2 separate regions of the Homo sapiens genome follow, and region 2 is linked to region 1. Evidence: promoter capture Hi-C in human tissues and cell types (Jung and others, 2019). All regions are on one chromosome and are shown on one strand. Each heading gives the region's core, a stretch centred on a gene start or on the middle of the fragment in contact. The rest is flanking DNA. Distances are from core to core; before and after follow the strand shown. Region 1 holds the start of MTFMT (mitochondrial methionyl-tRNA formyltransferase). Region 2 overlaps CSNK1G1 (casein kinase 1 gamma 1).

Region 1 (6,447 bases), core at 471-2,970:
AAATACATAACATGGCTATCATTCCATGGCAGTACCTGTAGCACTACCTCATCCTTTCTACCTGCTGCATAGCATTCTAGTACCCAGGGGGGTACATTTATTAAACAGGTATTGTATGTACACGTTGAGGAGTTATGAGGAGTATGTCCTGGGGCACTATAAAGAAAGCACAGGAGTAATGGAGCTGCCAAGTGAAGCATCATCAGAAGTATCAGGATAGGCCAGGAATGATGGCTCAGGCCTGTAATCTCAGCACTTTGGGAGGCCAAGGTGAGAGGATCACTTGATCCCAGGAGTTTGAGATAAGCCTGGGCAACATGGTGAAAACCCGCCTCTACAAAAAATTTAAAAATCAGGCGTGGTGGTGCACGCCCGTAGTCCTAGCTACTCTGGAAGCTGAGATGGGATGATTGCTTGATCTTTGAGGTCGAGGCTGCAGTGAGCTATGAGCCGGCCACTGCACTCCAGCCTGGGGGACAGCGCGAGACCTCGCCTCAGAAACAAACAAAAAAAGTGTTGGTATAAATGTATAAATGCAGTGAGAGACGCATGTGACAACAGCAGCCCATGAAGGGTGTGCAAAGGGAACATGGGGTTTCCTTCCGGGTGTGTGCACAGAGGGGTGTGTGGAGGAAGGAAAACCACACAGGGGATTGACGAAGGATTCAATACATGAGGGGCTGCTGTGAAGTATCTGTAGGGAAAAGGAGATGGAGATGACCAAAAAAAGTGGAAGGAGGACTGCGTCAGAAAAAAACAGAATGGGGAAATAAAAAACATTAATTGGGAAAAAGAGGCAGAGAAGTATATACGGTATTGCCACCACATACCATGGACTCTCAGGACTGGTTGGATTTCAAATAATTTTCTTTCCCAGTAAACAAAACTTGTTAAATATTATGAATACTAAATGTATACCTAACAGTTCTGATTTATAAATTTATTCTTTTGAAAACAGGTCGTTTTTGGACTATGTCCTTGTATACAAGGAGCACAGGGGGAGCAAAAGAGCGAGACACGGGTGTGCCGAAGGATGGGGGTCAGGAGGAACTGCAAAGCAGGGAACTTTGAAGTGGGACCTGGTTTTAGTCCGAACCACCTCGGCTGATGACCTTGGGCAATCGCATAACCTCTCTGAGCCACGGATTCCCCACACTCAAAACGGGCAGGGAGGCCGTGGGACTGGCCCGGGGGATGCAGGCAGAGCGCCCAGCCCCAGCTCGGCACAGCGTGGGTGGCAGGGCGCCTGGAGAACCCACAGAGGCGGCGGGGAGTGAGGGGCGCAGACCGCAGGTACTAGGCGCCCAAAGGCTGACCGGCGGGAATGGCGCACCTTCTGGGAGCCAGAAGACGCCGAGATCTGGGCCCACACCGCTCTGCCGCCCATGCTTTCCGCAACCAGAAGTCCAAAACCCTCGGGGCCGGCCGCCCGGGCGCGGCCTGGAGGCCTTCAGCGGCCGGGTCCCCGGATCCCTGGCCCGGGTACCTGGCGGCGTGCAGCGCCCGCAGCGCCTCGCGGGCGAACTGGTCCGTGCCGAAGAAGAGCACCCGCCAGGGAGGCTTCTCGCGGACTCTGGAGTCCCGGCAGTCCTCCCAGCCGAGTCGGGCCAGTGCTCGCCACTGGGGACTCGGCCTCCCACGCCTGGCGCCATGAGCCAGCGGAGGACCCCAACAGCGCCGCACCAACACCCTCATCGCCTCGGCCGCCGGCGGCCGGCCCTGCGCAGGCGCATCGGGGCGGGGACAAGGGTGCAGCCTGGGGAGGGCGGGGCTTGCCTGCTTGGAGGCGGGGTCTGGTTGGAGTTGGTGAACGAATTTGCCCGCTACAGCGGCCCTAGATTTTTGTTCTGTTTATTTGCACTATGTAGCCAATCCTCCAGAATAAGTCTTTCTTTTCTTTTTAAAATCGCTTTATTTATTTATTTATTTATTTATTTATTTATTTCAGAAAGGGTCTTGCTCTGTCGCGCAGGCTGGAGTGCTGTGGCGCGATCTCTGCTTACTGCAACCTCACTGCTCCTGGGCTCAAGGGATCCTCCCACCTCAGCCTCCGGAGTAGCTGGGGTACAGGCACACATCACCATGCTGGGCTGATTTTTTGTAGAGAGAGTATCTCACTATGTTGCCCAGGTCTCAAGCAATCCTCCTGCCTTGGCCTCCCCAAGTGCTGGGGTTACAGGCGTGAGCCACTGCGCCGGCCCAGGATAAGTCTTTTGGTAACAAATCGTGCATGTTTTCAGACAATGAAACCTCATGTATATAGTGCATGTCATTTCCTCAACCATTATAACCAATATTTGCTGAGTACTTCACTCCGTGCCACGTTTTTGCTAAGCATTTTATATTCATTATTCTGGTTAATCATCAGATCAACCTTAGGAGGTAGATACTATTACAAATATGTTACTGAAGAGAAACTGAAGCTCCGTGAAATTAAGGACTTACCAGTGTATAAGGTCCACACAGCTAGTAAAGGACAGAGCAGAGGTGGGACTCTTGTAATTCCAACGCTTGTAATCCTAGCCGTTGGGCCTTCTCAGCGATCCTATGTATTAGGCAAGTCAATTACCCACATTTTGCACCTGAGGAAACTGAGCCTTAGTTACTTGTCTGCAGTTACTTTCTTGAATCGAAGGCTCCATCTTTACTCCTCCCCTGTGGGTTCCTTTGCACACAGAAGGATACCATAGAGGTGATTCCTAGGGAAATGGACAGGGAACCTTATCCCCAGAAGACCTCCGAGGACCGTTAGTGCTTAGATTCTGTATCCCCAAAGCCTCCTTGAGTGGAGTCAGACATCCATGAAACAGGATCTGAGCAGAGACTGAAACCGAATTTTGTTCTAATCTTATTCTCACCACCATTTTTTTTTTTTTTTTTTTTTTTTTTGAGATGGAGTCTCGCTCTGTTTTTCAGGCTGGAGGGCAGTGGCGGGCGATCTTGGCTCACTGCAACCGCTGCTTCCCAGGTTCAGGCGATTCTCCTGCCTCAGCCTCCCAAGTAGCTGGGACATGCGCCACTACACCTAGCTAATTTTTGTATTTTTAGTAGAGATGGGATTCACTATGTTGACCAGGCTGGTCTTGAACTCCTGACCTCAGGTGATCTGCCTGCCTTGGCCCCCCAAAGTGCTAGGATTACAGGCATGAGCCACTGCGCCCTGCCGTCTCACCACCTTTTCCCATCACACAGTCTTAAACCCAGTGACCCTGGACCAGTCCTTTTTCCTAAATTATGAGCTCTGCACATCCCTGCTCCTGTGCCTTTGCTCATGCTCCCTTCCTAGACTGCCTTCCCACATCTCTTCATCTCTAAATGGTATCCATTCTTCAACACGAAGTTCAGACATTCGCCCTGAAGCTTCAAGCTCTTGCCTCCTTAGATTTCTTGTCTTTCTCCATGTGCCCCTGTTTTTTTTTGTTGTTGCTGTTGTTTTTGTTTTTGTTTTTGAGACAGAGTCTCACTCTGTCACCCAGGCTGGAGTGCAGTGGTGTGATCTTGGCTCACTGCACCCTCCACCTCCCCTGTGCAAGCGATTCTGCTGCCTCAGCCTCCTGAGTAGCTGTGATTACAGGCGCCTGCCACCACGTCTGGCTAATTTTTTGTATTTTTAGTAGAGATGGGGTTTTGCCGTGTTGGGCAGGCTGGTCTCGAACTCCTGACCTCAGGTGATCCACCTGCTTTGGCCTCCCAAAGTGCTGGGATTACAGGCATGAGCCACCGTGCTTAGCCCATGTGCCCCCTTAATACTCTGTAGGGACCCCCATTTCTCATGTAGTTTGGTATTACTGAGGAAGGTTGTCTAATGTATGCATAGACATTGAGAAATTCACATGTGTTTTGAACAGAAAAGAGAAGCAAAGAGGAAGATATTCCAGTAATTTTGCTTATCTGATCACATATGAGAAGGAGAGTGAGATGGGACCCCAAACCCTCTATTCCCTTGATCAAGTTCTGTTCCAGTATCCTCTCTTAGGGTGAGCAGAATGTGATTCTAATATTCGAAGACTGGTCTTTTCCCATACAACATGACCTAGAAATACAATGCAAATAGTCAACTGGTTTTCACCTTAGAATTTGGCTGCTGCCTAAAGTGTAAACCTTGGTACCTGTGTTTATGCCATTTCTTCCCTAGTGGGTTTTAAGCTCTTGAGTTAGAGAGCCTGCTTTATGCTACCTTTAATTTTCAGCAGCCCGAGTTCTCCCAGATAACCCTGCCCCCTAGGGTTGTTTTGCACCATTCCCAGAGTCCTTTGATGACTACAGAGCGACTGCTCAGGTTGAGGGGCTAATTCCAATCGTTTTCTTTCCTCCACAGATCCGCCTCCTATCACTGGCATCTAAATTTCTAGTTAACAAACACAAACTTCTTTTTAAAATTGATTTGCAGCAAACTTCTTTTTTTTTTTTTAAAGGAACATGGTGTTACTGTAATGGCTGAGGTTTTCCCAGGATGTAAAAATGAAAATATTTCTGAAACTCTTGGTAGTGAGTTAAGAGTATGTTGTAGAGGACGAGGGGTGTCTACTTTCAAGACCAGATAAATCCACCACTGGAACTATCATAAAGCACACAGAGAAGATGAGGACTCCAGCCCCGAATGGCAAGGAGTTTTACATAATAAATTAAGACACCCAGAAAGCACATACAAGGGGATTGGAACCCAGATAATGCTAATTCAGTTGGTGCTCCTGTTTTCAGAAATTTATCTTTCTTGATGAATAGAGTGTGTGCGGATGCTGAATCAATGAAATTACTCCAGGTTCTGAGTCTGGGTGACAAGACAATAGCAGTGTCATTGACGTAGGGAAATAACCCACTTGGTGGTCAACATGACATTTCACCCTTGAATGCTTTGAAACTGAAGTGATGAGACAAGCAAATGGAGACGTTTAGTAGAAAACTGGAATGCAGGAGTGGCCTCCATGACTAGGGGCTGGGAGAGCTGATCTGGGAATGGGAAGAGGCAACAAGCATTTCCACTTCCTGTTCCCGTCATCTCACCCCACTCCATGACTATATGGGTATTTCTGCAGGGTGAGGATAACTACCACAGAACAGAACTCCAGTTAGTAAGGTGGCCAACGCCTAAGTCCACAAGAACCCCTGCTTGTGGCCTAGGAGGCAATGCCACATTTGACCAGGGGAAGGACTGCCACACATAGGTGTCAGCCCAGTGCCAGGGGCAGGAACTGACCTCAGGGGCACAGTCCAGTGAAGCCTTTTGAGATGCAGTTCCTAGCGAGCCACTCCATGTACTGCCATCGCCTGCCTGTGGTTGTATCAGATGCCCGCAAGGAGGTGCTGCCCACCAGCCTGTCCCGTCACTGAGCGTGACGGATAGTCCGTTTGCTCCAGTACCTCTGACAGAATCTGCCCTCTGTGTTGTTACTGCCCTGTGTGGTCCAGTAGATGTCACTCCCTAACCTGTCCAGCCTCTCTGTAAATCAGGGCCGGGGATGAAAGGCCACACACAGCAGTGTGGGTCCACAGGACTCTCCTTGATAAGGAGAGAGACTGGAGAGGTTAAGGGACATCTAAGGGGTATCAGGAACCCCAGGAAGCGAAGCCAGATATACCACAGGTAGGAGAAGCAGCCTAACAATATGGACGTTTCCTCATTGCTGCTGAGGGGCATCCTAGAAAACCAAGAGAATATTTCAAAGTACACTTAAAGAGATCAAATATTAAAAACTTTAGTTCCCAGCCCTTTACCCCCAGCAAAAATGCTAGACAGTGTTAACAAAGCTGTATGTTGTTAACAGGAGGAAAGACTAGTTAGTAAAATAGCTACAGCTGTGGCCAGTTCTTGTTCTTGGACACCTATGTTTATATCGGAAAACACTTTTTGATGCTGTTCTCTGAAATCAGGCTCCACATATGGAGTGATAAAACAGAAATCCTTTTTTAAACAAAACCGCCTTTGCTACTTCCTAGACAGCCACTAGATAGCACCACAGCCTTGCTTCCTCACCCTTTACCCTCACGTGGGACTCAAAGAAGAGCGATTGCATGCAATTGATTAGCTCCATAGTTTCTAATCAGCTGCTCACTAGCATGCTTCCTTTATTTACCAGGTTCAGAATATGGGAAAGAGAGGCTGAAGCTACCCCAAGGAAGTTTTGTATAGATTGTTATTGTGAATATATATCATGTATCCTGTGTGGGGTGGTAGCATATTTCTGTTTGTATGTAAGGGCTATCAATAAATACACTTCTAAGAAAATTTTTCCTAGAAGTGTAATAATTTGGTTGGTTGGAGATGCTTGTGGTATCCTCTTTACATTTTACAATATAGATTATCATTCTCTGGAGATTTGCCAAAACCTTCAGGTCTATAATACATCCCTCTGTGGGGGATAATGATCATCTCAGTCCTTATGTAACAGTTATAGAAAGGCTCATTTGCTTATATCCTGCTCTCCTGTGGGAATCCTACTTGCCTCC
Region 2 (6,642 bases), core at 4,093-6,592, 780 kb before region 1:
AGCTAGACTAACCAAGAAAAAAATGAGAAGACTCAAATAAATAAAATCAGAAACGAAAAAGGAGACATTACAACTGATACCACAGAAATACAAAGAATCATTAGAGACTACTATGAACAACTATATGCTAACAAACTGAAAAACCTAATGGAAATGGATAAATTCCTGGACATATACCACCAACCAAAACTGAACCATGAAAAACACAACCTGAACTAATTATGAGTGATAAGACTGAAGCAGTAACTTATTCCATCAAAGGAAAGGCCAGAACCTGATGGCTTCTGATATAGTTCAAATATTTGTCCCTGCTCAAATTTCATGTGGAATTGTAATCTCCAATGCTGGAGGTGGGGCTTGGTGGGAGGTGTTTGAATCATGGCGGTGCTGTCTTCATGGTAAGTGACTTCTCATTAGATCTGGTCATTTTTTCCCCCACTTTCCCCCGACTCCCAGTCACTCTTCTTCCTACTTTTGTATTGTGATGTACCAGTCCCCACTTTGCCTTCTGCTATGACTGTAAGCTTTCTGAAGCCTCATCAGAAGCCAAGCAGATGCCTGGTGCCACACTTCCTGTGCAGCCTGCAGAACCATGAGCCAATTAAACCTCTTTTCTTTATAATTTATACAGTCTCAGGTATTTCCTCATAGCAATGCAAGAATGGCCTAATACGGCTTCACTACTGAATTCAACCAGATTTATATCAATAACTAATATAAATTCTTCTAAAACATTAGAAAAGTGAAGAGGAGAAAATTCTTCCAAACTCATTCTGAGTCCAGGATTACCCTGATGCCAAAACCAGACCAGGACACAACAACAAAAGAAAACTACATAGCAATATTCCTCATGAACATAGATGCAAAAATTCTTAACAAAATACTAGCAAACCAAATCCAACAATGTATAAAAAAGATAATTCACCATGATCAAGTGGGATTTATTCCAGGGATGCAAGAATGATTCAACATACATAAATTAATATATGAGATATATCTCATGAATAGAATGGACAAAACCGTATGATCATCTCAATAGACACAGAAAAGGCATTTGATAAAATTCAACATCCCTTCATGATTAAAAAAAAATCCTCGGCTGGGCGCGGTGGCTCTCGCCTGTAATCCAAGCACTTTGGGAGGCTTTGAGGAGGGCGGATCATGAGGTCAAGAGATCGAGACTATCCTGGCCAACATGGTGATACCCTGTCTCTACTAAAAATACAAAAATTAGCTAGGTGTGGTGGCGTGAACCTGTAATCCCAGCTACTCGGAAGGCTGAGGCAGGAGAATCGCTTGAACCAGGGAGGCAGAGGTTGCAGTGAGCCAAGATTGCGCCACTGCACTCTAGCTTGGGAGACAGAGCGAGACTCCATCTCAAAGAAAAACAAAACAAAACAAAACAAAAAAAACCCTCAACAAACTAGGTACAGAAGGAACATACCTCAATGTAACAAAGGTCATATAGGACAAATACAGCTAACATCATTTTAAACAGGGAAAAGCTGAATTTCTCCTCAAAAAATTGGAACAAGACAGGATGCCGTCTCTCACCACTCTAATTCAACATAGTACTAGAAGTACTATCCAGAGCAAACAGGCAAGAAAAAGACATAAAGGGCATCCAAATTGAAAAGGAGGAAGTCGAATTGTCCCTATATGCAAGTGACATGATTGTATATGTGGAAAATCCTAAAACTGCCACCAAAAAAATTCTCAAAATGAATTTAAAAATGTAGTCAAGTTGCAAGATACAAAAGCAACATGCAAAAATTACTAGCCATGTGCCTGTAGTCCCATCTACTCAGGAGGCTGAGGCAGGAGGATCACTTGAGCCTGAGAAGTGGAGGTTGCAGTGAGCCGAGATCACACCACTGCACTCCAGCCTGGGTGACTGAGTGAGAACCTGTTTCAAAAAAATAAATAAACAGGCCGGGCATGGTGGCTCACACCTGCAATCCCAGCACTTTGGGAGGCCTAGGCAGGTGGATCACCTGAGGTCAGGACTTCGAGAACAGCCTGGCCAACATGGTGAAACCCCGTCTCTACTAAAAATACAAAAACTAGCTGGGTGTGGTGGTGGGCACCTGTAATCCCAGCTACTTGGGAGGCTGAGGCAGGAGAATTGCTTGAATCTGGGAGGCAGAGGTTGCAGTGAGCCGAGATCACGCCACTGCACTCCAGCCTGGGCGACAGAGCGAGACTCTGTCTCAAAAAATAAAAATAAAATAAGAAATAAATAAATTAGTAGCATCTCTACATCCCAATAACAAACTAGTGGAAAAAAATCAAGAAAGTAATTCCATTTACAATAGCTACAAAAAAAATACCTAGGAATAAATTCAACCAAGGATATGAAAGAGCTCTACAAGGGAAACTGTAAAACACTGGTGAAGGAAACTGAAAAATTAAAAAAAAAAAAAAAAAAGAGTGTGGGCCGGGGGGAGACATCCCTTGTTCATAGATTGGAAGAATATTGTAAAAATATTAATAATACCAAAAGCAATCTATAGCTTCAACACAATCCATATCAAAATACCTAAGACATTCTTCACAGAAATAGAAAAAACAATCCTAAAATTCTTATGAAATCACAGAAGACTCTGAATAGCCAAAGCAATCCTGAGCAAAAAGAACAAAGCAAGGCCAGGCATAATGGCTCACACCTGTAATCCCAGCACTTTGGGAGGCTGAGGCAGGTGGATCACTGGAGTCCAGGAGTTTGATGCCTGCCTGTGTAACATGGCAAAACCCCACCTCTACAAAAAATTAGCAGGGCGTGGTGAGGGAGGCTGAGGCTGTAGTGAGCCGTGATCACATCACTGCACTACAGCCTGGGTAACAGAGTAAGACCCTGTATCAAGGCGGGGAAAAAAAAACAACACAGCTGGAGGCATCACCCACTAATCACGCACTACCTGATGTCAAAATATACTACAAAGCTACAGTAACCAAACAGCATGTTACTGGCATAAACAGACAAAGAGACCAAGGGAAGAGAGGAGAGAACCCAGAAATAAACCCACATATTTGGAACCAGCTAATTTTCAACAAAGGTGCCAAGAACATTCAGTAGGGAAAGGATGGTCTGTTTAGAGAAATGAAACTAGACCCCTATCTCTAACTATACAAAAAAAAACAAATCAAAATGGATTAAAGACTTAGATGTAAGACCTGAAACTATGAAACTACTAGAATAAAACATTGGGGAAATGCTTCATGACATTGGTCTGGGCAAAATCTTTCAGGTAAGACCTCAAAAACACAGGCAACAGAAGCAAAAATAAACAAATGGAATTTCAGCAAGCTAAGAAGCTCCTGCACAGCAAAGGAAACAACTGAGTGAAGAGACAACCAGTAGAATAAGAGAAAATATAATATATGCAAACCATGTATCTAATAAGGGATTAATTAATAGCCAGGATATATATGCAATTCAAACAACTCAATAGCAAAAAATAGTAAAAATAATAATCTGATTTAAAAATGGGCAAATGATCTTCACAGCCATTATCAAAATCAGTTTATCAAAAACATGTGTGTACGTCCATGTTTATTACAGCTCTATTCATAATAGCAAAGATATGCAATTAACCTAAGTGTCCATTAACAGATAAAGGACAAAAAAATGTGGTACATATACACACAAGGAAATACTATTCACCCATAAAAAAGAATGAAATTCACACCTGTAAGCCCAGCTCTCAGAGAGGCGAGGTGGGAGGATAGTTTGAGCCCAGGAGTTTGAGACCTGACTGGGCAGTATAGCGAGACCCCGGTTCTCCACAAAAAGGAAAAAAAAAAAAGACACACACACAAAAAAAGAATGAAATTCTGTCATTTGCAGCAACACAGATGGAACTGGAGGCCTTTATAATAACTGAAATAAGGTAGGCAGGGAAAGACAAATATCACATGTTCTCGCTCATGTGAAAACTTAAAAAGTTGATCTCATATAGAATGATGGTTACCAGAGGCTGGGAATGGTTGGGTGTGGGGAGGATGAAGAGAGCTTGGTTAATGGGTACAAACATACAGTTAGAAGCAATAAATTCTAGTGTTGATAGCACAGCAGAGTGACTATAGTTAACAATAATTTATTGTATATTTCAAAATAGCCAGAAGAGTAGATTTGAAATGTTCCCAACACAAAGAAATGGTAAATGTTTGAGGTAATGAGTAGCTTAACCACCCTGACTTGATAATTACACATAGATATGCATGTATCAAAATATCACATATATCCCATAAATAGGTATATTATGTATCAATTTTAAAAATGAACCGCCTACTAGGTATTTAACAAGTTAACTGGCTTTCTCTGCCCAATGAGATTTTGTTTTGACTACTGCATTTGTGAAGTTTCAACTGGGGTCTTGTTAAGGCTGGACACAGTGGTTCATGCCTGTGATCCCAGCACTTTGGGCAGCCAAGGTGAGAGGATCACCTGGGGCCAAGAGTTCAAGACCAGCCTGGTCAACATAGTGAGACTCCATCCCTACAAAAAACTAAAAATATTAGCCAGCTATGGTGCATTGCGCCTGTAGTCCCAGCTACTTGGGAGGCTGAGGCGGGAGGATGACTAGAGCCAAAGAATTTGAGGCTGCAGCAAGCTACGATTGCACCACTACACTCTAGCCTCAGAATCAGAGCAAGAGTCCGTCTCTTTAAAAAAAAAAAAAAGGGGGGGGGGGAGGAATCTTGTCATTTTTTAATTTGAGGATTAGCTTCTCCTTTATAAGAGAGCCAAATCAGAAGAGTCACTAGATTACAATAGCTGCTGGGAAGCCAGGATATGGGAGCCTAGACTTAGAAATTTCAGGTTATGTCAGAGACCTCCATTTTCCTGTCATTTACTGCAAAGAATCCTATTATCCTGCCGTTTACCTACCCTCTAAACCCTCAATCCTCTTTCATTTGCTCTGGTCCTTGCTGACTCATCCCCTCCCTCCCTTTTTCCTCCCACTTCAGCTGCATGCTTGGTTCTGGCTTATTCATCTTCTAGTCAATTAACGAACATATACCACGCTGTTGTCATGTGGTCAGCTATGGAGTCATTCTCATACTGTCACTCTTCCTAATACGGATCTGTTTCGGCCACAGACTCTTTCATATCTCTGCCCCAAACCTCTCATCCACCAAATCTTGTTCCTGTGTGCTAGAATACAAGCAAAACTGAGAGCTATGCTGGAAAAAAGATTTATGGATTGGAAAATTTTTAAATTGATAATGTATGTATCTTCCTAAGTAAAAGACCCTAAGGAAATACTGAAACCTAAAATCATTCCCATAAAAAGAAAAGAAATTAAAACTTGCCTATGGTGACCATAATACAATTAACATAACATTGATGATTGAAGAAAATAAGAAAAATAGTTATAAGATTTTACAATTTGGTTTCTATAAGAAATGAAAAAATGATAGCTAACAGGAAAATAAAATGCTTATTCTCAGTTTCAAGGTTCTCATGGTCCCCTTTACTTTCTTCCCTGATTATCTTGGAGATATCAATTCTTAAGCATTAAGTCTTGAAAATCTTGGTGGTAAAACTGTAATCAAGAAACAAAGCTTGAAAAGTGTGACCACTCACTAGAAAACAAAGTGGAATGGAAGAGAAAGAGTTAGAGATCACACAAGGAAAAGCAGAGACAATGTGGAAGACCTCCAACCAGAACCACATTCACAATTACCCAGTGCTGTCATTTTTGTTCTATCTCTACATAATTAGAGAATTGGTATGAATTTCTAGATCAGGTCATCAATGTGAAACTGGGGTCCAAAAGGCCAAGGTAATGATTAAGAGTTGGGTACTGAAGAAAATGGTCATAGTCCCAGGACAACAAAAAGTTCCTATTTTAGGAATTTAATGTCTCAAGCTCTGGATATCACAGCAATAGGTATTCTTTAAATTCATAATCAATCATTTTTCCCAAATAATTTCATACATTTATAAGCAATGATTAATTCACTGAACAAACCTAAGTCACAATGGGCTTTTTGTTTAAGTATTCATTGTCAGGAAATCCAAATATTTTATAATTCACTGGACAGTAATGAACAATGACAGACAAAACACTAGTGAGTAAAAACACTAATTATGTTACTGTGGTCTTTGTGTGGCTTTGGCACAAAAGGTTGTTTATTTACAATGCTGCAACATCACCTTGGTAATCAAAAGAGTGGCATATGCGCACTGGCTGCTCAAACATTAACTACCAATGAGTCATACTTGCAGCTGAGAACTTACTCTGAAAAAATAGGGGGAGGAATGCTGTGCCTCTAAGTTAAAAACAAGCTCTGGTGTTCATGCTCACATTTACAAGGACACATGGTGAAATCTTGTCTATTTTCTTGTCAATTGATCTTCTTTCAAAATAAATTTCCTTTTTTTAACCATCACAAGGAATATTTTTATTAATAACATTGGTAAAAATCTAAAAAGGCAAGCTTATTAAATCTTTCTAACTTCTTTCTGCCACTGAACTACTTGCTGACTGCTATGTGACAGAATGACATCACACCAGGCCTTAAGATACGCTTGAGATACAAGGGTAAAGAAGACACAAGGCTTGTTTTCAAGGAGCTTATAATCTTATGGCAGGGAGTGGGGAGAGTGGGACCAATATGCAATTACAATAAAAA

The links. The method cuts DNA at HindIII sites, captures the fragments that hold promoters and counts their contacts. A contact is called where the count stands out against the background at its distance.
Region 2: a fragment that was not itself captured here is called in contact with the fragment with the promoter of MTFMT in region 1 in 1 of the 25 tissues and cell types used here (aorta).

What each region holds. Positions count from the first base shown.
Region 1 is chr15:65,027,919-65,034,365 of GRCh38, forward strand. It overlaps MTFMT (mitochondrial methionyl-tRNA formyltransferase), which reads right to left and starts at 1,721. Exons shown (of 9, transcript NM_139242.4): 1 at 1,487-1,721. The coding sequence starts at 1,695. RefSeq lists silencers at 1,134-1,433, 1,684-1,873 and an enhancer at 5,408-5,487. The HindIII fragment of the contact is 8,500 bases long and covers 1-5,265 here.
Region 2 is chr15:64,241,957-64,248,598 of GRCh38, forward strand. All of the region lies in intron 4 of CSNK1G1 (casein kinase 1 gamma 1), which reads right to left. Among named protein-coding and RNA genes, the nearest start is that of PPIB, 82 kb to the left of the region's middle. RefSeq lists enhancers at 4,023-4,523, 4,524-5,024, 5,145-5,204, 6,094-6,388. The HindIII fragment of the contact is 4,593 bases long and covers 3,047-6,642 here.